Linked DNA regions of Homo sapiens: all the other regions are linked to region 5. Evidence: promoter capture Hi-C in 16 types of primary human blood cells and fetal thymus (Javierre and others, 2016). All regions are on one chromosome and are shown on one strand. Each heading gives the region's core, a stretch centred on a gene start or on the middle of the fragment in contact. The rest is flanking DNA. Distances are from core to core; before and after follow the strand shown. Region 1 holds the start of DTD2 (D-aminoacyl-tRNA deacylase 2). Region 2 overlaps MIS18BP1 (MIS18 binding protein 1). Region 3 overlaps LOC107984674 (a long non-coding RNA gene). Region 4 overlaps G2E3 (G2/M-phase specific E3 ubiquitin protein ligase). Region 5 holds the start of FBXO33 (F-box protein 33). Region 6 overlaps FANCM (FA complementation group M). Region 7 holds the start of G2E3 (G2/M-phase specific E3 ubiquitin protein ligase).

Region 1 (3,572 bases), core at 847-3,346, 8.0 Mb after region 5:
GACCATATTACATCTGAAGGCTTGCTTTTATTGTGGGGTTATATCAAGGGATTCTGATTTTATCAAGGAACAATTAAAGAAATTGCCCTAGAAAATCTGATACTACATTTGCTGTAGGGACATAGTTTAGTATATTTCTCACTGTCTCCTGTGCTTAGTACTTGGGGTCATAGTTAGGTGTCTTCCACAAAAAAATTTTCTCACCCTCTTTGTTCGAGTTCTCATTTACCAAGCAACATCCTGATTTCTGTGTTACTCTCTCTACATAAAAATAATATGCTGGTCATACCGATTTTGAGTATTTCTCATAGTTAATTAATAAAGAGACTTCTGAATATGATCTAGCTTCCTATGCTTCACCACAGGGGGAAACATGCTGACCATGCCCTATGTGAGAATTTCTACTCCATGTCATGGCAATATTTCTTGTTGTAAATGACTAAATTAGTATTCTGGTTCTACCCCAATCTAATGTGCATTTTAGTTAATGTTAACCAATTTCTCAGAACCTGGTTATTATTTTTTTTTTCAAAAAAAAATAAATCTCTGGGCTTTAAACTAGAAAAAAAAATATCTGGGCTTTAAACTAGAGGGCTAGATACTGTCTTCCCTAAGATAAGATACCTACCTCTTCCAGTTGCACTTGTTTTTTTTTGGTTTTTTTTTGTTTTGTTTTGTTTTGGTTTTTTTTTGAGACGGAGTCTCGCTCTGTTGCCCAGGCTGGAGTGCAGTGGCGCAGTCTCGGCTCACTGCAAGTTCTGCCTCCTGGGTTCATGCCATTTTCCTGCCTCAGCCTCCCGAGTAGCTGGTACTACAGGTGCCCGCCACCACGCCTGGCTAATTTTTTGTATTTTTTAGTAGAGACTAAAAATGGTTTCACCGTGTTAGCCAGGATGGTCTCCATCTCCTGACCTCGTGATCCACCCACCTCAGCCTCCCAAAGTGCTGGGATTACAGGCATCAGCCACCTCGCCAGGCCTGCACTTGTATTTATTAACATATCCTATATAAAGTCTCAGGTAAGAGGCTCAGCTGAGAGCTAAATCTGAGGAAAAGCTCTGCTTATCCCTAGAACTATGAAATAGATTATACTGCCCTTCCCTATCCTCTCCTATTTACAACCAGGAAGCTTAGCATCAACTCTAAGGAATCTTTTAGAAATGGTTCTCAAACTTTTCATGTTTGTGAAATACTTTGAATGCCAGAATTTAGGGCAGCCAACTTAAATGAATTAAAGAAGGTAAAATAACACTAAATTAGTTATTGTACCATCTCAGAGGACATAGAACCCATCCACAATTAATCCCCTATCCATATGGTACACTTTCAGCATTGTAGGTGTTTGAGAATTATCTCTGCTCAATGATTTCTCATACAATGACAAGGCAAAGCTCTCTCACATTCCAGTGAACCACCATCTTCTTGTAAAGCCAACTTAATGCTATGCTTTGCCTTTAGTTCCAACTTGAAACAAATTGTACAACCTACAGCACCTCAATACTACATACAATGAACATAATTGTTTTATAACAAAAATTAAAGTTATACATTTGTGAAAATTTTGCTGCATACTATATCATCTCAGCACTCCAGTTGAGAACCACTGTCTTACCTGTTTTCAATTTCCCCCATTGTGGCTTACTGACATAATTCTAGTTTCTTTATTTCTAATGCTTTAATTCACATTTTACTATTTTATTGCATGCATGTCCTTCCTTCTTAAATTATTTGCAGAATGAAACTAAGTGTTCAAAAAATAAAATACAGAAAGGAAATGCTGTCTTTGGTGGCCACTCTCTATAGCCTTCTGCAAATAGAAGTAAAAAATAAGTGAGCCACAGCCTATTACAGTACCTACAGCAATGTCCACGAGATCCTCACTCAATAGGAGGGTTTAAAGTAATTAGTGATTTTTGAGAAGCTAACCATTACCATCCATACTCCATCTATTCTACTCACAGGAAGGGTTTCCCAATTTGTTAAAGAAACCCTCTCTGTAGAAAGATCTCTGCGAACCACATAACCTATTCTCTATAGACCTCCCTATTTCCTGCAGCCACATACAAATGGACACCAAAGTCTTTTCTTATTCTGGGACATAGCTAATGGTTTGTATGTCAAAGTTTCTTTCAGGCCTGTAAAATCTGAATCTGAGAGCCGGAGAGAAAAGAGACTCAGTAGTTATAATGACATAAAGGTGCAGACATGAAGCAATTCAACTTGTCTGTGCTTTGCAGACAAATGTCAACAACTGTTGGAATCCCTGCAATGCAACAATCAGAGATCATGTGAGATTTTGCTTTCTGTTTTTACTAAAAGTGTAAACCTGGCTGCAAGATAACCAGCAAACAAGCAGCTTCGATTTTGTGTACAAAGGACTGTTGATTATGCATGGACTATTTTCTTCAGTCACACTACTTTGTATGGATAGCAACACTGTCAGTGATGTCATCTTTTTAAACAACAGATCCGAATGTATAGGCACATTGTGTCAACTGAGCCCAAATCAATGACCTGGGTAATGCAATCAGGGTAACACTATTATTCCTCATCTAAACCATCCAAGCCCATAGACAAATAAATGCTAATCTGATGCATGTTTAAGGAATACGTTACATGGGAAAGAAAATCAAGCCCTTGTTTAGTTTTATTTACATTCTAATATGTACTTCCAGAAAATGCATCACAGAATTTACGTCATATGCATCAGAATAAGCTGTTTTATTTTTGTATTAGTAGCGGGCTAAGTTATTAACAATCATACTTTCTTGGATAAGAACATTTTTAACAAGGATATCTTCTAAAGAATGTGTATTCGTATAGCATACCAATACCTTTTCACAACTGTGGAATCAGAATAATTTATGGCATTCCCGATAGAGGAGGCAGCATTGTTTTTATTGATTGGAATAAGGAAAATTTTGAAGGATGTATATATAGCTTTTAGTTCCATCTCCGCTTGCTTTATGATTCGATTATTTGTTTACTTACTTTCATATGGGCATAACATGAATTTAAATCAAGCAGATTTAAAATTTTTCAACAGTTGGAACCTAAGCTTTCTGAGGTGAAAAATGTTTCTTAAAAGGTTTGTAGGAAAGAGATTTAACGAGTCTTTTCAATCGTTTAATAAAAGTATACACTGAGCGCCTTCTACAGAGTTGGGCAGGTGCTGCCGAGAAGCTTAGCGCTACGCCGGCCTCCAAGACCGCACATCCGGGACATTCGAGAGTCAGTCCGAGGCCCCGCCCTCCTAAGGGCGGGGCCACTGGGCAATCGGCGCAGGCCCTTCGTCGTGCCCCGCCTCGTCTGCCCCGCCAGCGCGTCGAGGGAGGGGCCAGCGACACATGGCCTAGTAACTGTCCGGCCGCGGCGCTGGCTTAAGCCATGGCTGAGGGTAGCCGGATTCCTCAGGCCCGGGCGCTCCTACAGCAGTGCCTGCACGCCCGGCTGCAAATTCGCCCAGCCGATGGGGACGTCGCGGCCCAGTGGGTGGAGGTAACGTCAGCCCGGCAGCTCTCGTTATCCTCCGGCGTGCGGGGCGGTTTTTTCCGCGTTGTCTCGGTGACTCG
Region 2 (3,596 bases), core at 903-3,402, 5.8 Mb before region 5:
CCACTTAAGCCTCCCTTGTAGCCATCTAAATTTTAAAGAGTGACATACCAGTTATGGTTTTATATCTCAATATATTCGCTAGAAATCCCATTATTGGAAAATATTTAAACTTTATTTATTTATCTATCTATTTATTTATTTATTTTGGAGACAGAGTCTCACTCTGTCACCCAGGCTGGAGTGCAGTGGCACAATCTCAGCTCATTGCAACCTCCGCCTTCCAGGTTCATGCAAATCTCCTGCCTCAGCCTCCTGAGTGGCTGGGACTACAGGCACATGCTGCCATGCCCGGCTAAATTTTTTTTTTTTTGGATTATTCTCATTAACATATAAACATGTTGAAACATGGCCTGCATTTTTTAAAAACATGCAAACAAAGGCCCATCTTTCCTTTATCCCCTGTCCAACTCCAGCTGCTACACTACTTTTTGTTTCCCTTATATAGCAAGACATTTGAAAGAGGTCTGTGTATTCATGGTTGGAGTTGAGAAGAATATTCTGTGCTGGAAACATATTGGAGAGCTATCAGCATAGAGATGGAATTTAAAACTATGACACTGGAAATACAGCCTAGAGAGTGCGTGTAGGTAGGGAGAAAATTGAGGGGGCAATTGAAAGGGCAATGTCCTTACCACCTAAAGTAAAAGGAAATGATTACAGGTGTGAGCCACCACGCCTGGCCCCAAAATGTCTTTCTAAAGAAGTGTTACGCTTTATATTTTGTATTCCAGGATCGTTCCTGATTTTCTGCTACATTGCTGCCCATCCCTTCTCAGTCCTCTTTGCTATTTCCTCTTTCTTTCCCCAGAATCAGTCCTAAAAATGTTGGAATTACTGCAGATCAGCCCTAGAAATTGTTTTTCTACCTACACGCACTCTCTAGGCTGTATTTCCAGTGTCATAGTTTTAAATTCCATCTCTATGCTGATAGCTCTCCAATATGTTTCCAGCACAGAAAATTCTTCTCAACTCCACACTCATGTGCAGTTGTCTATATGACTTTTCTATTGATATCAGATAGGCATCTCAAATTGAAAATGTGAGAAAATGTGAGATTCTTATTCTTGATTTCTTTACCATACCTTCTCCATTGTCCTGTATTAGTACATTGTAATACCATTGGCCCCAGTATTTAGGCAAAATTTTAGATTCATCTTGGACTCTTGTTTCTCTCTCATGCTCCACATCCAAACCATGAAGAAATCCCATTGGCTCTACTCTCCTGAATGCGGCCTCTTCTCACTGTTCAACCACTACCTCCTAGTCCAGGGATGACTGTCATAGCCTAGTGGTCTCCCTGCTTCCAGTATTGCTTTTCTCCTTTTTCAGTCTGTTTTCCAGACAAGCTAAAATCTTCATATAGTCTCATCTCTACCCAACAGTCCCTTAAAATATCAAATTTTGTCGTTCTGTTCAGAATCCCCAGTAACTTGTCATCTCAATAGAAAACACTAAGCCTTTACCATGGTTTACCGAGCTGTACTTAGTTAATCCTGGAGATCTCCAACCTCACCACTTATTCCCTCTCACTTACTCCTTTCAAATTATGCCTTCCATGCTGCCTACCTGGATCTCTGCGCTGACTCTCTGTGCTTAGAAGAATCTTTTTGCTGATATCCATGTGACTCATTGCTCACTTTATTCAGTTCTCTCTTCCAAGACGTTCCCTGACTGTTTTGTCTTAAAAAGCACCTCATTTATCTAATGCCTTTTATTTATTTTTCATAGTAATTACCACCACCTGACATTTTCATATTGGTTTAGATGCCATTATCCTGCTTGCCTCCACCCCCAACCCTAACACACACACAAGAATGTTGGCCCTAAGAGGGGCAGCTGTTTACTTTCTCACTCAATCTCCACTATCTAAAACAGTGTGTAGAACTCAACAAATATTTGTTGAATGAATAATGAATGAACATTTTGATATCTTATATAAGCAGTATAATAGTATGGTACAGGATTATTATCTCCATCTGACTGGTGCGTTGATATATCTCAGGTAGTTCCAAATGTGGGAGAAGGCAAAAAGAGAGTATTATTTACTGTTACTTCCCCAAGTCCTACCTATAATTTTTTACTTTTTTCAGAAAGAAACATTTAAAAGGGGCTTAAAAACAGAAGCCATATTTGTGTCTTGGGTGAGGGTAAGACAAGATGGTGGATCCCCTCGCCATTACTACTGAGACCCATGGCTTATAAACTATCCTACTTATAATTTTTTATTTTTATGTATTTACTTTTTGAGACAGAGTCTTGTTCCATCACCTGTTGAGGCTCACTGAAGCCTCGACCTCCCAAGCTCAAGTGATCCTCCCACCTCTGCCTCTCCAGTAGCTGGGACTACAGGTGTGTACCACCACACCCAGCTAATTTTTAAACTTTTTTTTGGAATCTTACTATGTTGCCCAGGCTGGTCTTGAACTCCTAGGCTCAAACAGTTCTCCCGACTTGGCCTCCCAAAGTTCTGGGATTACAGGTTTAAGCAACTGTCCTCAGCCATCACCTATAATTTTTTAAATGAACATAATCAACATGTGCCATAACAAAGACTGTCCCATTTTAATGTCTTTTCCTGACTCAGTATAAAACTACCACTGGAGAATTTGTTTTTATTTGTAAATGTGTAACTTTACATATAAAGTAAATTGCCACTCAAATTATTCCATAAATTTTGACTTTTTTTCTCATCAGAAGTAGTTCAATCTTAAATTTTATGAAATTTATATTCAAGAATTTCTTTGCATAGATTGTCATAAAATGTTTTCCATTAGAATGATATTTTACTTGTAGTAAGATAATAAAGAGTTCTCTGAGCTATTCAGATGTTTACTTTGGAATAAAATACTGTTAAATCTAGATTACCAGCAGTTACCTTTTTAGTTTGTAGAAAATTGGAATACAGGTCTAAACTTTACAAAAAAAAAAAAAAACTCTTAATTTTTTAAGGACAAAACATAGCTAACTCCTTTTCACTCCAAGTTACTGGGCTTTTTGCAGGACTTGGTGTTTTAATCTGTACCTTGGGATTTTACATGATTTTTGTCCCCACCAGTTGAGATTTGGTGATAGAGTATTTGAAGTATAATTGCTTCTTGATTGTAGAACAAATGCAATACAACCTGAATTCAGTCTTTTCTTTTCTGTTTCATTGTATACAAGAATTTTACCTATTGCTATTTAGAATAGAATGTGAATCTTACATCGATGACACTAAGGAATATTTGGATTACTTAGACAAGTTTTTTCTTTTAATGTAAGTTAATTTTGTAATGCTTGTGCTGCAAGTAATACAGGAAATATGTTCTTTGTTTTATACTTGATTAGGTAGTTCAGCTACAGGAATGGATGATTAAAAGCATCAATAATAATACTGCTATATGTGTAGAAGGAAAATTGATGTAAGTATACTATTTCATTATTCTTTTAATAAAACTTTAGTTATGTGTAAGCACTTAAGAGTTAATGCATGAGAAATAGCATCCTCCACAAAGCAAAGACCTAACAAGGTTATGAACTGAAGGCAAAAAAGTAAAATTACTGTGCAGGTCCTAGCCATGTTGATTGCTACCAGCTTTCTTGTTTTTGCATGTTTA
Region 3 (3,916 bases), core at 996-3,495, 5.8 Mb before region 5:
GCTCAAAGAAAAAAAATAATCTCAGCACAAATATTTCCTTAGTCCCAGCTGGTCTAACCTCTTTCTCTCTCCTTCCTTTTACGTATTTCTTGGGGAACAAATATCTTTGTGTTTGTCTCCAGGCACTCACCTCTTGATTATACTCTGATACCATAACCAAGCTTCTGCCCTACAAACCTGTTGTCCCCAAGGCCCCATGATTGCTAAATCCAAAGAGTATACTTTAACCTTTATTACATTTGCCTTTTGGGTAGCATTTGACATTAGAGAAAAAATAATGTTTCTAAATTGCATATCTGTAATAATAATAACAACAACTACCATATACTAAGTACCTAACATGTGCTAAGTGTTTTATACATGTTGCCTTATTTAAGCCTCACAATGATTCCATCTCATTTAATGAGAAAATGGAGGTAAAGTAACTAGCCAATAGATATACAGAGAGTAAGAGAAAGAACTCAGATTTGGAATCCCTTAATGACTCCGTCTCAAATGACTCTAAAATCCATTCCCTTAATGACTACGCTATTTTCAGACCTATGTAGCATGCTGCCTACTGGTCGGTCCCTCTTGGATTACAAAGTAAATTCAAAATGATCAAGCCTAAAACTAAACATATCTTCTCAACCCCCGACAAACCCTTCTTCCAGTATTATCTACTTCTCTAAATGGTACCATTATCCACCAAAATGCCCAAATCAGAAACAAGAAGGCTTTCTTTAAAAATTTCTCTCTTCCAAGTCCTACATCAAATTGATCATTTAATTCCGTCAACTCATTCCCTTAACTTCTCTCCAATCTGCCCATCCCCACTTTCAGAGTTTGGGTTAGGCCCTCATCATGTCTCACCATAACAACTACAAAAATTTCTGAGACAGAATTCTCATCTAGAATGCCATCCACTTCTAATCAATTCTCCACACACTGTCAAAGTGATCATTCTAAAACTCAAATGTTGGTGAGAATGTGAACAACCTGGATCACTCACATACTGCTGCTGGTAGGAATGCAAAATGGTACAGCCACTCTGGAAAATAATTTAACAGTTTTTTTAAAACACTAAATACTTCTCACGTTACCCAGAAATTGCCATCCTGGGCATTTATCCCAGAGAAGTGAAACTTAAGTCCACATAAAATCTTATGATTTTTCATAACAGTTATATTTGTAATAGCAAAAAAAAAACTGGAAATAATCAAAATGCCCATCAATAGATGAATGGTTAAACAAATTGTGGGTATATCTGTCAATAAAAGGAAACTATCAAAACTATTGATACACACAACTTGGATACAAGGGCATTATACTAAGTGGGGGGAAAAAGCGCCAATCTCAAAAGGTTACAGGTATAATGATTTTGCTTATACAACTTTCTTTAAATGGCAATATTAGAGATAAAAAAAAAAATGATTAGGGCTGGGCATGGTGGTTCATGCCTGCAATTCCAGCACTTTGTAAGGCCAAGGTGGGGGAGACTTGAGGCCAGAAGTCTGAGACCAGCCTGGGCAACATGGCAAAACCCTGTCTCTACTAAAAATACAAAAATTAGCTGGGCATGGTGGTGCACACCTGTAGTACCAGCTACTTGAGTGGCTGAAGCACGAGAATCACTTGAACCCAGGAGGCGGAGGTTGTAGTGAGTCAAGATAGCTCTGGAGAATAGCCAAAGGTCTACAGCAACCAAGAAAATGCTGAACCAAGAAAGTGGGCAGACCACTTGAGGCTGGGAGTTCCAGACCAGCCCGGACAACATGGCAAAACTCTGTCTCTACCAAAATAAAATACAAAAACTAGCCAGGCACTGTGGCACATGTCTATCATCCCAGTTACTTAGGAAGCTGAGGTCGGGGGGTTAACTTATACTGCGAGGTCAAGGCTGCAGTGATCCATGATTGTGCCAACGCACTCCAGCCTGGGTGACAGAGTGAGACTGTGTCTCAAAAAAAAAAAAAAAAAAAAAGGAGCAACTTACTATCTAAAGCAATCTGCAGATTCCATCAAAATATCAATGACATTCTTCACAGAAATAGAAAAAAAATCCTAAAATTTGTATAGAACCACAAAAAACAAAGCAATCCTGAGCACAAAGTTGGAGGTTTCACACTACCAGACTGTAAAATATACTACAAAGCTGTAATAACCAAAACAGCATGGTACTGGCATAAAAACAGACACATAGACCAATGGAACAGAATAGAGAACCCAGAAATTAATTCACATATCTACAATCTACAATCAACTAATCTTTGACACAGATGCCAAGAACACTCATTGGGAGAAAGGATGGTCTCTTCAATATATGGTCTTGGGAAAACTGCATCTCCATATGCAGAAGAATAAAACTAGACTTCATCTCTCACCCTATACAAAAATCTACTCAAAATGGATCAAATACATAAATGGAAGACCTGAAAATATAAAACTACTAGAAGAAAACATAGGTGAACTGCTTCAGAATATTGGTCTGGGAAAATTTTATAAGCCCTCAAAAGTACAGGCAATAAAAGCAAAAATAAATACATGAGATTATATATAACTAAAAAGCAATCAACAGAATGAAAAGACAAACCAGAAAATGAGAGAAAATATTTGCAAATAACTCATGTGACAAGTGATTAATATCCAGAATATACAAGGAACTCAAACACCTCAATAGCACAAAAATACAATCTGATTTTCAAATGAGTAAATGATCTGAACAGACATTTCTTAAAAGATATATAAAAATGGCAGGCTGGGCACGGTGGCTCACACCTGTAATCCAGCACTTTGGGAGGCCAAGGCAGGTGGATCACTTGAAGCCAGGAGTTCAAAACCAGCCTGGCCAACATGGTGAAACCCAGTCTCTTCTAGGAAAAAATACAAAAATTAGCCGAGCATAGTGACACTCACCTGTAGTCCCAGCCACTTGGGAGGCTGAGGCAGGATAATTGTTTGAACCTGGGAGGTGGAGGCTGCAGTGTGCTGAGATTGTGCAACTGCACTCCAGCCTGGGCAACAGAGCAAGAGCAAGAGTGAGAGAGAAAGAGAGAGAGAGAGAGAGAGAGAGAGAGAGCGCGCCAAGAAACACATGACAAAATGCCCAACATCACTAATCATCAGGGAAATGCAAATAAAAAGCACAATGAGGTTTTATTTCACCCCAGTTAGAACGGCTATCATCAAAAAGACAAAAAAAAGCAGATTCTGGCATGGATGTGGAGGAAAGGGAACTCTTAAAACACTGTTTGTGGAAATGTAAACCAGTAGAGCCACTATTGAAAATACGATGGAGGTTCCTAAAACAACTACAAACAGAAGTACCATATAATCCAGCAGTCCCACTATTGGGCATTTATCCAAATGAAAGGAAATTAGTATATCTAAGAGACAACTGTACTTGCATGTTTGTTACAGCATTATTCACAATAGCCAAGATTTAGAATCCACCTGGGGTTCAACAACAAATGAATGGATAAAGAAAATGTGGTATATACAAATGGAATACTATTAAACTATAAAAAAAGAATGAAATCTTGTCATTTGCAACAACATAGATGGAGCTGGAGGACATTATGTTAAGAAAAATAAGCCAGGAACAAAACATTAAACATCACACGTTCTCACTTATATGTGGAAGCTAAAAAATTTCATCTCATAGAAGTAAAAAGTAGAATACAGGATACTAGAGGCTGGGAATGATAGGGAGAAGGGAGGGATAAGGAGAGATTTGTTAAAGGTTATAAAATTACAGCTAGATAAGAATAAGAAGTTCTAGTTTTCTATATCACTGTAGGATGACAATAGTTACTAAGAATATAATTTCAGGCCACACATGGTGGCTCACACTTGTAATCCCAGCACTCTGGGAGGCTGAGGAGGGTGGATCGCTGGAGCCTGGAAATTAGAGACCAGCCTAGGCAACATGATGAAA
Region 4 (3,483 bases), core at 136-2,635, 8.8 Mb after region 5:
AAAACCCTTGATTTTCTAATTTGGGTTCAATGAAAAGGTCTAGATACCATGACCAACCCACCAAAACTAAGAATCTCTAGCATCCAGACTGTGGTTGTGAATTACCCATTTCCCATTAAAAATAACAAAGGTTCCTTAGGCTAAAATGTACAAAATGAGTCTGAAACACCTTGTGATACCATATAGCAAAAAAGCTTACAAAGACCATTAAGGCTCACATCGAAAGAATTAAAAACAATAATATAAAGAGACTTATACTGGTCCAAGACATATAAACTTCAGTAGTAATAGTAACTATAAAGATTTTAAACACATCAAATATATTTAAATCTATGGATTAATGATACTACTTTTTTTTAAATGAATTTATCAGGTTTGAGATGATATCTGGTATTGGCTTTAAAATAATACTGGAGTCAATAACAAGGGTAGGATAAAGATGAACAAGACAGGCACAAGTTAATAAGTGTTAGATCTGGATGGTGATTACAGACTTTCATATGTGTATTTCCATTGTTTAAAAAAATTGTAAGAGTGTAAGGAGATACATAAGTTGTCTAACTTAGACCAGTGTTCTAAACTAAAGGACAGCAGGAATCATACATACCTTGTTAATCAAAGAACGGTCAATATATGTATTACCCAGCAGATAAAAGGTACTCAATAAATAGTTATTAAATGAATGCACAGAGACAGAATAGTTGGCTCATGTGGTAAGAGTTTTAAAAAGAATATTTTTTAGAAAAAAATTATAATCTGAAGCAGTGGTTATTTCTATGAAAGCATCATACATTTACACAATTCTTTTTTCATTTTTTTGAGAGGGAATCTTGCTCTGTCACCCAGGCTGGAGTGCAGTGGCATGATCTTAGCTCACTGCAACCTCCGCCTCTTGGGTTCAAGCAATTCTCCTGCCTCAGCCTCCCAAGTAGCTGAGATTACAGGAACCCACCACCACGCCCGGCTAATTTTTGTATTTTAGTACAGACGGGGTTTCACCATGTTGGTCAGGCTGGTCTCAAACTCCTGACCTCAAATGATCTGCCTGCCCCAGCCTCCCGAAGTGCTGGGATTACAGGTGTGAGTGAGCCACCATGCCCGACCTACACAATGCTTATTAAATGATCAGAACAGTAACCATCCTAAAAAGGCTTAAGTTATTATTTAAAAATAGCATTTAAATTTTTTTCTGAGAAAAACATCTCACTTATTACCAAATATATCTCACATTACAAGATAATTAACCACTTTAAACATGTAATTTGAAAGAGCCATATATTAATAGAAACAACTTACCTTTCAAAGGGTGTGTGGACTCTCTGAATTACATGGTAGCCAAGTATGTCTTTTACTAACATATATTTATCACTTAATGTCGTTATAAGTCTGAGACATCCAATTAACTCAAGGTAGTTATAGCATTCATTTATTATTGACTTTAAGTCAGCTACAGTTGTTGCAGTATTTATCTGTAATGAAGGAGAAAATACAGCCACTTTACTCATTTACTTTTGAGTGACATGCACATTTCAAATGATACTTGTTAATTTATACTCAAATTTCTTAGTACATATGGGTGCAGTAAAAGTAAACCAAGAAATATTCTTCTAGAATAAATGTCTGATCATCCAGTTCAACAAATTTGTCTATTTCTGCCTTCAAGAAATCCAGAGTATAATGCCACTTTACTACGTGAAACTATTTATAAAAAAGGAAATAACTGACATTGAAAAATTATATAGCACTAGGTAAGACTAGCTACTAGGGAGGCTGAGGTGGGAGGCCTGCTTGAGGCCAGAAGTTCAAGAACATCCTGGGCAACACAGCTAGCCCCCCTCTAAAGAAAAAAAAAAAAGGCCTGGTGTGGGTGGTATACACCTGTAGTCCTAGCTACTCTGGAAGATGAGGTAGAAGGATTTTGAGCCCAGGAGTTGGAGGTTCAGTGAGCTATGATCACACCAATGTACTCCAGCCTGGGTGACAGACTGAGACCTTATCTCTTAAAAAGAAAAGAAAAAAAAAGAGAAAAGTTACCTAGTACTAGATAGGCAAGAAAGATGACCTGAGAATTCATGAAAAAGAGTAACAGCTGAGAATTAAAAGATGGACAGAATTTTATCAAGAATATTTTAGTGAACAGCATAAACAAAGAAATACTTGGCCATTTATGTGCAAGACACTTTCATACAGGTTAGCTCTTAAAGGTACAGATGGAGAAAGTTAAAAATAGGAAACAATCCATTAACAGAAAATTTACTTGCAATTTCCTTTTCCTAAAACATTCTTAGAGATTTACATGACTTCTTTTCATTCATTCAAAATCTCTGCTGAAATCTCCTAAGTTTTTCATGACTATTCTGCTCAAAATACTATCTTTACACCCTGTCGGAGTAATAATTGGGTATATGTTGCCTCATCCCTGCAAACCCTCAACCCTGAGTTTCAGCTGGGCACATAGCCAAACTTTTGCTGCAGCTAGGTGGGGCTACATGACTGTTCAATGGGATGTAAGTAAAAACAACATGTCAAACTTCCCTGCTCTCAACTTCCACTTTTCTCCTTTAAGAGCAAGCTTCAACCATGTGGATGCAAACAATAATGCTAAGTGTTACACGATAATGAGAGGAAGGAACTCAAGTCCTTAGACGGTTTTGTAAATCACAACTCTATCTCGAAAACAGAGGGCCATCTGTATAAAGGGCCAGATAGCATTTTATGCTTTTCAAACTATATGGTATCTGTTGCAGCTACTCAACTCTGCCACTGTAGCGTGAAAGCAGTCAGATCAGTAGCAAATGGGCATGGCTGCATTCCAATGTAACTATTTACCAAACAGGCAACAAGCCAGAACGTGACTTACAGGCCATTTTTTGCCAACTCTTACCCTAAAATCTAGACAATGGATTTTACAGAACAGTAAACATCTGCCTTGTTTGAGCCACTGTCTTTCTGGGTCTATGAGATACAGAAGTTTAGCCTAAAACCTAACTTGTATATACTCCAACCCTTATCCATCTCCTTTTATTCTGTTGTATGTATGCATGTATGTATTTATGTATACATTTATTTATTTGGGATGGAGTCTCACTCTGTTGCCCATGCTGGAGTGCAGTGGCATGATCCCGGCTCACTGCCACCTCTGCCTCCCGGGCTCAAGCGAGCCTTTCAAGCAGCTGGGACTATAGGCGCGCGCCACCACACCTGGCTAATTTTTTTGTATTTTTAGTAAAGATGGGGTTTCACCATGTTGGCCAGGCTGGTCTCGAACTGCTGACCCCGGTGATCCACCCACCTGTTCTCCCAAAGTGTTGGGATTACAGGCGTGACCCACTGCGCCCGGCCATATTCTGTTTTATTTAGCATTATAATACATTTTACTACGTGATGGCATATTACATTTGTTGTTTATCTTCTGTGTTCTCTCTTAATGTAAATTCCAAGAAGGCAGATACTTTGCTTCACTACTCTATCTTTAGTAACAAA
Region 5 (3,908 bases), core at 1,034-3,533:
CCACCAGAGCAGATACCTACCTTAATATTATAGTCCTATCCACCATTCGTTGCCTGGGTTTCAAATCCAAATAAGCATGGTGGTTGCTATAGTGACAATATGCCACTTTTGGAACCTGGAGCTTAGTACTACTAGGTACTTATGAGCTTCATAACGTCAGTACTTCCTCCCACACTCTGAATCATAGCTCAGATTTTATAACTTCACAAAATGTAATTCCATTCTGTCCTATATGAGTCAATTTTATTTTAGCAGTATAGAATATATGTCAAAAGAATCTAACTCACTTAACATGCTAAATATACATACTCAATATACATTTAATTAATAGTAAATATATTGGCCTGATAAGATAAATTTTGTGCAACCATTGGAATTCACTGATTTATTATTGAAACTGGGCAAGATTCACAGCTAATTCTTTAGCTTACAGTTGTTAAAATAGGATTCCTACCACACTTCATTTAAGAAGAAAGTTTGAAATTCTAAAATAATGAATTTCATTTATGGCAGACTGACATATTTTCATTTTACTCAGGAACCATTCCTAATAATTAAAGACTAATTATTAATGATCTCCAAGATGGTAGCTTGTTGCTAGCAAAATGCTAAGAAAAAAATATCAATCTCAAATTACAGTGCATTTCTAGAATATTAAAAAAAAAAAAGTCAGAGAACTGGAAACCCTCATACATGGCTGGTGGGAATGAAAAATGATGCAGCCACTTTGGAAAAAGTTTCCGTTTCTCAAAAAGTTATACATAGAACTACCCTACGACCCATCACTTTCATTCCTAGGTATCTACCCAAGACAAATTAAAACATACGTCCACATAAAGACTTGCACATGAATGTTCACAGCATTATTCATAACTCGAAACGACCTAAATGTCTGTAAACTGGTAAATGGGTAGTGTTTCATCCTGCCGAACCCACGACTGGGGTCGCCCTCTAAGAGTTCATTAAAATTAATAAGGTATAATTACCTAAAACTCTTGTAAACAGGGGCTCGAATAAGTAACCTATCACAATTGATAAACCACACCATGTTGTTGGCAACCTGATATGTGCAAGGCATTAAACGGAGAGCTTTGCCCTCAAAGGGTTAAGAACATCTAGAATGGGGGTCTCCTCTTTCGTCTTGGGAGCCCCCTCCGTCTGTCTCTGTAGTGGGGAGCTTCTTCCTTCAGCCTTCTTCCTTCTTTCTTGCCTATTAAATTCTCCGCTCCTTAAAACCAAAAAAAAAAAAAAAAGTCCAAAAAGTCTTGGTGTTTACCACAAAAGAACGATGCTATTCCAACATCACAGCCTCCCTAAAGCAACTCTCAATTATTACATAAAGAGGCAGCCTCCCTAAAGCAACCCTCGATTATTACATAAAGTCACTTAATCTTTTCTGACTTCACCACTCTTTGCAACCAGAGTTTACTTTGCAGTAGGCTGTGGTGAAGTTAGGGACATGGTTTGGAAAATCTAAGTTAGGGATACCAGGCAAAAAAAGAAGAAGAAGAAAGAAAAAAAATCAAAGCTCTGTCATTACTGTGAACTTTTCAACGAGAGCCTTAAATCTCAGCACAGGGAAAAGAGACCCTTCCTCAAGCCCTGGAGAAGAGGCTGGTCACAACCTGCGGATCTCAGATCCCTTTGCCAATTTTTTTCTCTCCCTCTGAATCCAAAGGGTGACGCTGTCCTCACTGCTTCCCCACACACCAGCGAGTGCGCGGAAGTCCACCTGCGTGGTTGGACCGAGGGGGCAGGTCCATTCGCGGCCTCCGCCACGCCCCACACCGCCCCTCCCGGCACAGCCCGCCGGGGTTAGCCCGCCCGTCCGCCAGCTCCCTCTCAGCGGCGCAATCTCAGGAATTCTTAACCCTACTCTGGGCAGGTGGGATGGCTGAGAAAGACCCTGCATGCCGCCACTTTGGCTCAGGGTCCTCAGCCCAAACTGAGAAACGTTTTACAAAGAAGCGTGACGACCTTTCGCACTAAACCAGAGTACCGCCACCTCCATCGACCGAGCGCCAAAATTAACCGACTTACAGATGTGACTGGGCGCAGCGGCCACCGTAAGGCGTAAGGGGTGCCAAGTGCCGGTTCCAGTCCCGCCCAGCCCCGCCCCGCCCCGCCCCGCCCAGCCCCGCCCCGCCCCGCGGCCTGCGTGCGTCAGAGATCACGTGCCGCGCCTCCCGTCCCTACAGGCAATCGGGCGCTCCCCTCTTCCGGAAGTCGCGCCGGTGCGCGCCGGACTCCTCCCACCAGCGGCGACGTCAAACTCAGCTCCTACCACTTCTCTGTCTCTGCCGACCGGCGCAGGGAGGGCTGCCTTTTCCTTACAGTACGCCTTGAGGCTTCCGGGCCGCTGAAGTTTACGAGCGAGGGCAGTGCAGTTACTCAGTGTGCCGGCCTCGGACGCACGTGAGTAGAGTTTGAGAAGACAGAGGCTGGCTCCCGGCAGGCCACGCCCGCAGAGGCCTTTCCCCCTCTCCACAACTTGTGTTCTACTTGGTTCCGCCGAGACCCACGACGGTTCCGCCCCCTTCTTCCTAGTCATTGATGTTGTTGTTCTTGTCAGTGCCGCAGCCCCGACCGCCGGGAGCTCGAACCCGAGCCGGGGCCGCCCGGGTGGCGCGGTGGCGGCGGCTGCGGCTGCAGCAGCTGCGACGGCTGCGGGGGCTGCTCCGGGTACTGCGGGGGCGGCCGGGAGCCGGCAGCCGGCGGCGGGGCCGGATGGCTCTGTGCGGGCAGGCGGCGGGCGCTGCGTCGCTGCCCAGCGAGCTGATCGTGCACATCTTCTCTTTTCTGCCGGCGCCCGACCGGCTGCGGGCCTCGGCCTCCTGCTCGCACTGGCGTGAGTGCCTCTTCTATCCGGCCCTGTGGCCCCAGCTCCGCATCTGCCTCCGCGTCTCGCCCGCGGAGCAGCCTCGGCTGGAATTCCTCATGCGCAAGTGCGGCTGGTTCGTGCGAGAGCTGCGTGTTGAATTCGCCGCCGAGAACTATCTGAGCGGCGGTGGCCCAGGGGACGGAGGTGGCGCGGACACCGGGACTGGAGGGGAGGAAGTCGAGGCCCTGCAGCTCTCAGCTCGTTGGCTGGAAGTGCTGCGCACCTACTTGGAGCTGGTGCTTTGCGTGCTGGTCAGCATCCGGAACAACAGGTAGGCTTGCCCTGAGCCCCGCCCCGCCCGGTAACGGGGGGTCGCTCCGTCCCCGCACCCCGACACAGATTCTGTGCATAATACGTGCCCGGCCAACTTCAGTGTTGCCTTCCTCAGTGACGGAGAGTGTTGGTTCTAACTAGGCGGTTTCCTTGAGCGGAAAGGCATAACGGGACTCATCACGATACTTTATAAACAGTGGTGGACGGGGTGTTTAACAGACACCACTTCTGGCGCCTTCCAGGCACTCATTCATCCTCTTGGTGGCCGTGGGATGGAGCTGACAGGCGCTGTCACTTTTCATTTTATATATGGGAGCGTTAAGACTGGGAGGGTGAGGCCTGTGGGTGAGCCTTGGAAGAAACAAAACATACACATAACACGATTTTCTGACTCTGAATCTGTTAGAAATAGTTCATGGTGAGGGAAGGAGTAGGTACTCATAGGACGCTGCCTAAAAGAAATTTTGTAACAGCCATTTTCTTACCAGAAATAGTTTCGGCTAACTGAACAAGGCCCGAAGAGGAGGAGGAGTGTTTGTTAAAGGGATTGGGGAAGAAGTTGATCTTCAGGGTTGAAAGTCCCTCCCCATACACCACCACACTCAACTTCTCCCCAGTAGTTCACCTAAAAGTAACAGTCGGGCGGAGGAGGCGGGCGGGCAGCGAGGGAGTTGGCCAGGGTCTGCAGAGGGTAAGCACATAACTGTTCTGGTTTTGCATCAGGACTTCACTGTAATTCCAGAACTAACGCCTT
Region 6 (3,475 bases), core at 387-2,886, 5.7 Mb before region 5:
AATAGAATAAATAAGATCTAATATTTGATAGCATAATAGGGTGACTATAGTCAGTAATAAGTTTACATTTTAAAATAACTAAAAGAGTATAACTGGATTGTAACAAAAAGAATAAATGCTTAAGGTGATGGATACCCCATTAGCCTGATGTGATTATTATGCACTGCATGCCTGTATCAAAATATCTCATATATACCATAAATATATATACCTACTATGTACCCATAAAAATAAAAAAAAAAAGTTTTAAAAGGCTGCCACAGAATGTATCCAATAAAATCCTTACTCAAGCCGGGCGTGGTGGCTCACGCCTGTAATCCCAGCACTTTGGGAGGCTGAGGTGGGTAGATCACGAGGTCAGGGGTTCGAGACCAGCCTGACCAACATGGTGAAACCCCGTCTCCACTAAAAATACAAAAATTAGCTGAGCATGGTGGTGGGCACCTGTAATCCCAGCTGCTTAGGAGGCTGAGGCAGGAGAATGGCTTGAACCCGGGAGGCAGAGGTTGCAGTGAGCCGAGATCGCGCCACTGCACTCCAGCCTGGGTGACAAAGCGAGACTCTGTCTCAAAAAAAAAAAAAAAAAAAAATCCTTACTCAATATGGAAGACCGTTCAGAGCTACTAAAATCAGAATATTATAGGACAGGTCTCAAAATCTGCATTTTTACCATTCTTCAATAAAGGAAACCAGAATTTCCCAGACATACTGTTGATTCCATGGCTGGGCCGAAAAAATACTAAAGGAGCATAATGTATCTTATGATGTCAGAAAGTTACAGAAGCATCAAAAGAAAGAGTGGCAAGGTATGGTGGCTCATGCCAATAATCCCAGCACTTTGAGAGGCTGAGACAGGTGGATCACTTGAGCCCAGGAGTTTGAGACCAGTAGTTCTAGACCAGCCTGGGCAACAATGGGAGACCCTGTCTCTACAAAAGATACAAAAATTTGCTGGGTGTGGTGGCAGGCACCTGTAGTCCCAGCTCCTCAGGAGGCTGACGTGGGAGAACCACCTGAGCCTGGGAAATTTAGCTGCAGTGAGTATTATTGTGCACTGCCCTCCAGCCTGGAGGACTCAGTGAGACCCTGTTTAAAAAAAAAAAAAAAAAGTGCATGTCTAAAGGACACAGGAGCTTGAAGGAGCTCCTAACAGACAAAGCTGGAACAATCTTAATAAAATTGATAAAATAGTATTGGACTGTGGCCCACAGAAGGAAAAAAAATCTTTATTGCAGAAGAATTCAAATTAATGCATATAAAAGAGAGAAAGAATGATTAGGCAAATACCACAACAATAATTGTTGCAAGCCAAGAACCACCACTGGATGCTAAAACAGGATTATTTACATAGTCTCAAAGTATTTCCCCCACAAGACAGTTATTAATTACAAAGGGAATAACAGTAATTTTACAATGAAGAAACCAAGAAGACATCATCTTAACTAAGTCAAGATTACAACACAAGTAAAAAAGGCAAAGCAACATCATCTATTCCCTGATAGGATATGCTGAGAAAGGTACAGCATCACTTCTGGATTATTGTTAGCAAATGCATAACGTCACCACATCATGAGAAAACATCAGACTTACCCAAATTGAGGGATATTCTACAAAATATCTGGCACCTACACTTCAAAAGCATCAAGGTCATGGAAAACAAGAAAAAAGAGGAAGCGGCCGGGCACAGTGGCTCACACCTGTAATCCCAGCACTTTGGGAGGCCGGGGCGGGTGGATCACGAGGTCAGGAGCTCGAGACCAGCCTGGCCAACATAGTGAAACCTTGTCTCTACTAAAAATACAAAAAATTAGCCGGGCATGGTGGCGGGTGACTGTAATCCCAGCTACTCAGGAGGCTGAGGCAGGAGAATAGCTTGAACCTGGGAGGTGGAGGTTGCAGTGAGCCGAGATCATGCCATTGCACTCCAGCCCGGGCAACAGTGCGAGACTTCGTCTCAAAAAAAAAAAAAAAAGAAAAAAGAGGAACCATCACAGATTAGAAGGGACTAAGAAGCCATGACAACACAATGTGAGATCACAGACTGAACCCTGGAGCAGAAAAGTACATCAGTGGGAAAACTGGCAAAATTCAGACAAGATCTGCAGATTAGTTACTGGTATAGCAATGCTAATTTTCTGGCTTTGATAATTTTATTATGGTTATATGATACGTTAACATTAGGGGAAGACGGGAGAGGACCAAACGAAGACTTCTATTTTTGCAATTTTTCTGGCAATCTAAAGTTATTTCCAAACAAAACTTTAAAAAACTGAAAACAGTAACAACTTTTAAAAATCATTTTACTATTTAAAAATATCCTGTATTTTTAACAGGTTTTAGGGATTCTTATGCACACTGCAGTCTGAAAACTACTAACTTAAAGAAACTCCTGGGCTGGGCATAGTAGCTCACGCCTGAAATCCCAGCACTTTGGGAGGCTGAGGCCGGCAGATCACCTGAGGTCAGGAGTTGGAGACCAGCTGGCCAACATGGTGAAACCCCGTGTCTACTAAAAATACAAAAATTAGCCAGGCGTGGTGATGGACGCCTGTAATCCCAGCTACTCGGGAGGGTGAGGCAAGAGAATCGCTTGAATCCAGGAGGCGGAGGTTGCAGTGAGCCAAGGTCATGCCATTCCACTCCAGCCTGGGTAACAAGAGCAAAACTCCGTCAAAAAAAAAAAAAAGAGAAAGAAAGAAAGGAAAGGAGAGGAAAGGAGGGGAACGTAAGGTAAGGGGAAGGGAACAGGGAGGAGGAAGGGGAGGGGAGGGGGAGGAGAACAGAGGAGAAAGGGGAGGGGAGGGGAGGGGAGGGGAGTCCTGCAACCACTGAAAAAAAGCTAGGCAGGTTGTAGGAAATGTTGTAGTTCTCATGTTAAACTAGATAAATACCAAAATGGAAAACTGATCTGGCCCCATATAAAAGTTCTTATTATTTGGATTATTCATTTATGTTTTTTGTTTTTTGCTTTCTTTTTTTTTTTTTTTTTTTTTGAGACGGAGCCTCGCTCTGTCGCCCAGGCTGGAGTGCAGTGGCTAGATCTTGGCTCATTGCAAGCTCCGCCTCCCGAGTTCACGCCATTCTCCTGCCTCAGCCTCCTGAGTAGCTGGGACTACAGGTGCCCACCACCACGCCCGGTTAATTTTTTGTATTTTTGGTAGACACCGGGTTTCACCGTGTTAACCAGGATGGTCTGGATCTCCTGACCTTGTGATCCGCCCACCTTGGCCTCCCAGAGTGCTGGGATTACGGGTCTTGCTCTGTCACCAAGGCTGCAGCACAGTGGCAATCATAGCTAACTGCAGCCTCCATCTCCTAAGCTCAAGCAATCTTCCTGACTCAGCCTCTGGAGTAGCTGGGACTACAGATGTGTGCCACCATGCTCACTATTTTTTTAATTTTTTGTAGAGATAGGTCTCACCATGTTGCCCAGGCTGGTCTGGAATTCCTGGCCTCAAGTGATCCTCCCATCTCC
Region 7 (3,886 bases), core at 1,239-3,738, 8.9 Mb after region 5:
ACCCATTTGAGTAAAATCTTAAGGGGAAATAAAAAGGCCAATGGCTAAATATGCATAAAATGTAATAAGAGATAGATTTGGAGAATTCTAGTAGTATTGATAGAACATCAGCAGGTTGGAAGAGACTGGTGTAATATTATGAAGATGGTCCTTGGGAAGAGAAGTTGGTACCAGACTCTGAAGGGCTCTGTAAATAAAAAGCAAAGCTAAGAAATTTGAATTATATATGGTAGACAATGAGAAGCCATCAGAGATACTTATGGAGCAACATCTGGAGGGAGACTGAAGAGAGGCAAGAAATATTACTTTTTTAAAAAAGCATAAACTTTTGAGTTAAATCTAATTTCCGACTTCAGTTCCAACGTGTTACTAGTTGTGTGAGAACAAATTACCGAGCCCCTCTTAGCCTGTTTTCTTATTTGAAGATAGTAACTACCTCAGCGATATTGTAAAGATTAATGAGAGAATGTATGTGATGCGGTTTTTACAGTTTAGTAACTCAATGTAATTGGAGACTTATGTATCATTTGCTATGTGGCACACACTATTTTAAGGTCTTTGTATATATTAACTCATTCAATCCTCACAATAATCCTACAAAGTAGGTAACCTCATCATACGGTAGAGGGAAATGAAGCAGAGAGGTTAAACAGCTTGCCCAGGGTCACCTAGCTATCAAGTGGTGGAGATGGGCTTCAAACCAAGGCAATCTGGCCCCAGTTCCATGTCTTTAATCAACACATTATAATGCCTTTCTAGGAAAGATCAAATCAGTGTTTTGAAAACTCACAGTATTTTCTAACCTTTCAGTTAAATATGCAGACTGTTCAATGCCATCCTCCAGACCTACTGATTCAGAATCTGAGATCTGAAGTGCAGGAATCAGCATTGTTGAACAAATCCTTCAAGGTAGTGTATACACAATAAATTCTGAAACTCACTGATTTAAGAAAGAGCAAAAATCCAATGAAAATAATTCAGGTAGAAAAAAATAAAGAGATTAGGATATAGCGATCAATTTTTAAAAATTACCATTTGTTGACAGCACATATGAAATGAGCAGAAAGGCTTAGAGAAGTATAGCCAATGTCTCTGTTACAAAGACACTATATGAAAAATGCTCATATTTTAACTATCCTAAACACCGAGTATTTAAGTCTATTCTTCCTGGCTAACACTTAAAAGTTCAATAGCAGGAAGAATGGGGGTGCTGGAATAGCCAGCACTGGATGAAGGAATGTTTTTATTCTGATTATTATGAAGTCCTACTTTTAAAAATATATTTATACATTTAAATGGTACAATATCCTGGTGTTAAAACCTTAAAAGGAACTTAAAATATCTTTTCGTATTAAGCTACACAAAACTGACGATTTTTAATAAAGATGTAAAACTTGTACACATTTAAAGTTCCCATTTATAGTTTACATTTATGGCACACTTTTAAACCATTCCAGAAGGCATGACTTTACTACTGGGTTAGACAGAGTTCCATATTTCAGATAGTTCATCATTAAAAATTAAAAAAAAAAAAGCCCAAAACAATAAAACCCAAAGAAACAGATGCTCAAAGCATTAGTGGATTACTTCCAAAAAGACTCCATAATAACCCAGTTGGCCAATGAATGAGGGAGGCGAAAAGGCAGGGCGGTGGAACTAAACCTTATCCCTATTGTTTGCAAACTAAGACCCTAGTTAATCACCACCGCTGTTACCACAGCCGGTTTAAATAGGAGTCTCGGATTTTTGCGGTACATGAAAAATGTCAACCGTGAAAGAAAAATATCCGGGTTTTAAATACAAAGGACACTCGAATTTCAGTTTAAATCCCACTCAGGCATTTCAAAGACTGTCACTTCCCTGCAGTCCAGAGTTAATCAAGGTTGCCCGGGTATCTCTCTCAGGAGGAACGCGGAGCCACGTAGAGCATCTTTTCATTCTAAACCCGCCCCAACCTTCCATCTTTCATTAAAAGAGATTTGTTTAAACGTGGCAACGCCTTCACAGTGAGATTTAACTACTGTTAAAATTTCAGCATTCGAGCCGAATTGGTGGAAATAATAAACTACGGGTTTAAAAAAAGCCACGGAGGATGCGTATAAACAAGGTTTACTCGCGGGGGACCGGCAGGGCCTCCGAATCCTCAACACTGAGAGCTGGCTGGCGTGCGCAACCGTCGAGAGCGCTGGTCCAGCAAACGCCCCCAGTGCCCCGAATTCCCTTAGTCTCCAGGCCGGGCCCCAGCACCAGACGTCCCCAAAAGCACTGCGAGGCCCCGGCTGCGACGTCCGGCCTCCTGACACCCTCTCCCACCCCACGGTCCTGCTTCTCTCTCTGGAACGTTCTGCGTCTTCCCGTTCCCCATTTACTCACCAAGGAGAGCTGGGCAGAAGTTCCAGAGCCTCAGTGCCACTTTTCCCGGCCCGCTGTACGTCGGGGCACGCCGACCGCGAGCAGCCACATTCAACGGCCCACAGGATTCAAATTCGTCCACTTCCGCTCGCAAACCCGGAAAGAGCGGTCGGCCCCGCCCTCGAGGGGTGGGACCCGCGGAGGCGCTGGCTGTGGGGAAGGGCCCGTGTGCTCCCGCCCTTCTGGCGCTCCTGCGCTGCTGCTCGGTGCTAACCTGGCTGTGTCGCCTTCGCTTGTTTGTTTTGTCGGGTCTCTCTCCCTATTTAGGAGCTCAGAAAAACTCCGGGCGCGGGGTCATTGTTTCCGCCTATTTGCTCTTGAGGGGATCCTCTTTTTTCCAAAATGGACAGAGATGTGCTGAAGTTTCGTCACCTTCGAGGAATGGGGCGAATGAAAGCACGAACGGAGGCAGGAGGGTTTTATCTTTCCCTTCATCCTCGAGGAAACAGCAGCAGCAGCAAGAAGGAAAAAAACAAACCCTCCAAGTACTTAGTGCAGCCTTTCCTGGGCCTCTCAGTCCTATCCCGGCACAGTCAGGGCTTTTAATTTATTTCTGTCCTGGGTTTAGGGAAAACAAAAAGCCAAGTTCACCCGTATTCAGCCAAAAGTTGAAAATAAGTGGTCGGACCAATTCCTGGTCTCAAATAAACTATTTGATGGTGTTAGAAGGCAATAAATTTTATTTCCCCCCTCAGATAAGGGCTCACTTTACGAGATTATTAAGTATTGTCCCGTGAGATTATTGAAACAACAGTATCTTTTCCTTTATCGAGGACCACAGTATGTCTTTGATCCAAAACGTCTTAAGCTTCTGAAGAGACATCTGGGAGCTTCCAGAAACTAAAGGAAGGACTGGAAATGCTAGGGGGTGAGGGGCGCTAAATAACTCTGACCTTTATGGCTGTGATTGATGTTGCCACCAGATCATCCTCACATCTAATAACATTGAATTACCTAAACGGATCAGTACAAACCAAACCATGACAGCATACCTTTAGCCTTTGTCAAAAATACAGTTTGAGGGCCGGGCGCGGTGGCTCACGCCTGTAATCCCAGCACTTTGGTAGGCCGAGGCGGGTGGATCACGAGGTCAGGAGATCGAGACCATCCTGGCTAACATGGTGAAACCCCGTCTCTACTAAATGTACAAAAAATTAGCTGGGCGTGATGGCAGGCGCCTGTAGTCCCAGCTACTCGGGAGGCTGAGGCAGGAGAATGGTGTGAACCCGGGAGACGGAGCTTGCAGTGAGCAGAAATTGCGCCACTGCACTCCAGCCTGGGCGACAGAGCGAGGCTCTGTCTCAAAAAAAAAAAAAAAAAAAAAAAAAAAATACAGTTTGAAAGGTTTACTAGATTTCTGAGAACCTATGCTACAGGTAATCTGACACAGGGGGTGTGTAAAGCTATTAACTGATGTACTGTTTTTAACAGTGGAAGATAGAAAATAATCTGTGTCTACAAATAAGGAAGGGGT

Evidence for each region. Contacts are between HindIII fragments. The CHiCAGO score rates a contact against its expected background, and 5 or more counts as called.
Region 1: a fragment that was not itself captured here is called in contact with the fragment with the promoter of FBXO33 in region 5 in 1 of 17 cell types (non-activated CD4 T cells); the score reaches 6.2 in non-activated CD4 T cells.
Region 2: a contact is called between a fragment that was not itself captured here and the fragment with the promoter of FBXO33 in region 5, in 7 of 17 cell types (non-activated CD4 T cells, total CD4 T cells, M0 macrophages and 4 more). The highest score is 16.0, in non-activated CD4 T cells.
Region 3: a fragment that was not itself captured here is called in contact with the fragment with the promoter of FBXO33 in region 5 in 12 of 17 cell types (non-activated CD4 T cells, naive CD8 T cells, monocytes and 9 more); the score reaches 30.6 in non-activated CD4 T cells.
Region 4: a fragment that was not itself captured here is called in contact with the fragment with the promoter of FBXO33 in region 5 in 1 of 17 cell types (total B cells); the score reaches 7.1 in total B cells.
Region 6: a fragment that was not itself captured here is called in contact with the fragment with the promoter of FBXO33 in region 5 in 10 of 17 cell types (total CD4 T cells, non-activated CD4 T cells, total B cells and 7 more); the score reaches 16.7 in total CD4 T cells.
Region 7: a contact is called between the fragment with the promoter of G2E3 here and the fragment with the promoter of FBXO33 in region 5, in 1 of 17 cell types (non-activated CD4 T cells). The highest score is 5.8, in non-activated CD4 T cells.

What each region holds. Positions count from the first base shown.
Region 1 is chr14:31,457,209-31,460,780 of GRCh38, reverse strand. DTD2 (D-aminoacyl-tRNA deacylase 2) reads left to right here and starts at 3,275. Exons shown (of 3, transcript NM_080664.3): 1 at 3,275-3,498. The coding sequence starts at 3,388. RefSeq lists enhancers at 3,111-3,290, 3,431-3,572, 3,085-3,572. The HindIII fragment of the contact is 1,929 bases long and covers 1,132-3,060 here.
Region 2 is chr14:45,237,453-45,241,048 of GRCh38, reverse strand. It overlaps MIS18BP1 (MIS18 binding protein 1), which reads left to right. Exons shown (of 17, transcript NM_018353.5): 5 at 3,328-3,401. Among named protein-coding and RNA genes, the nearest start is that of MIS18BP1, 14 kb to the left of the region's middle. The HindIII fragment of the contact is 5,284 bases long and covers 1-3,596 here.
Region 3 is chr14:45,261,976-45,265,891 of GRCh38, reverse strand. All of the region lies in intron 2 of LOC107984674 (a long non-coding RNA gene), which reads right to left. Among named protein-coding and RNA genes, the nearest start is that of MIS18BP1, 11 kb to the right of the region's middle. The HindIII fragment of the contact is 4,164 bases long and covers 164-3,916 here.
Region 4 is chr14:30,610,193-30,613,675 of GRCh38, reverse strand. It overlaps G2E3 (G2/M-phase specific E3 ubiquitin protein ligase), which reads right to left. Exons shown (of 15, transcript NM_017769.5): 13 at 1,297-1,469. Among named protein-coding and RNA genes, the nearest start is that of SCFD1, 10 kb to the left of the region's middle. The HindIII fragment of the contact is 2,378 bases long and covers 197-2,574 here.
Region 5 is chr14:39,430,808-39,434,715 of GRCh38, reverse strand. FBXO33 (F-box protein 33) reads left to right here and starts at 2,283. Exons shown (of 4, transcript NM_203301.4): 1 at 2,283-3,152. The coding sequence starts at 2,554. LOC105370461 (a long non-coding RNA gene) reads right to left here and starts at 2,277. Exons shown (of 8, transcript XR_007064121.1): 1 at 2,197-2,277. RefSeq lists silencers at 1,685-1,854, 2,595-2,724, 3,165-3,294 and an enhancer at 2,245-2,494. The HindIII fragment of the contact is 7,836 bases long and covers 1-3,908 here.
Region 6 is chr14:45,140,806-45,144,280 of GRCh38, reverse strand. All of the region lies in intron 3 of FANCM (FA complementation group M), which reads right to left. Among named protein-coding and RNA genes, the nearest start is that of FANCM, 6.6 kb to the right of the region's middle. The HindIII fragment of the contact is 3,787 bases long and covers 1-3,475 here.
Region 7 is chr14:30,557,760-30,561,645 of GRCh38, reverse strand. G2E3 (G2/M-phase specific E3 ubiquitin protein ligase) reads right to left here and starts at 2,488. Exons shown (of 15, transcript NM_017769.5): 1 at 2,374-2,488. It overlaps G2E3-AS1 (G2E3 antisense RNA 1), which reads left to right. Exons shown (of 4, transcript NR_151720.1): 3 at 811-909. RefSeq lists an enhancer at 2,633-2,822. The HindIII fragment of the contact is 9,808 bases long and covers 1-3,222 here.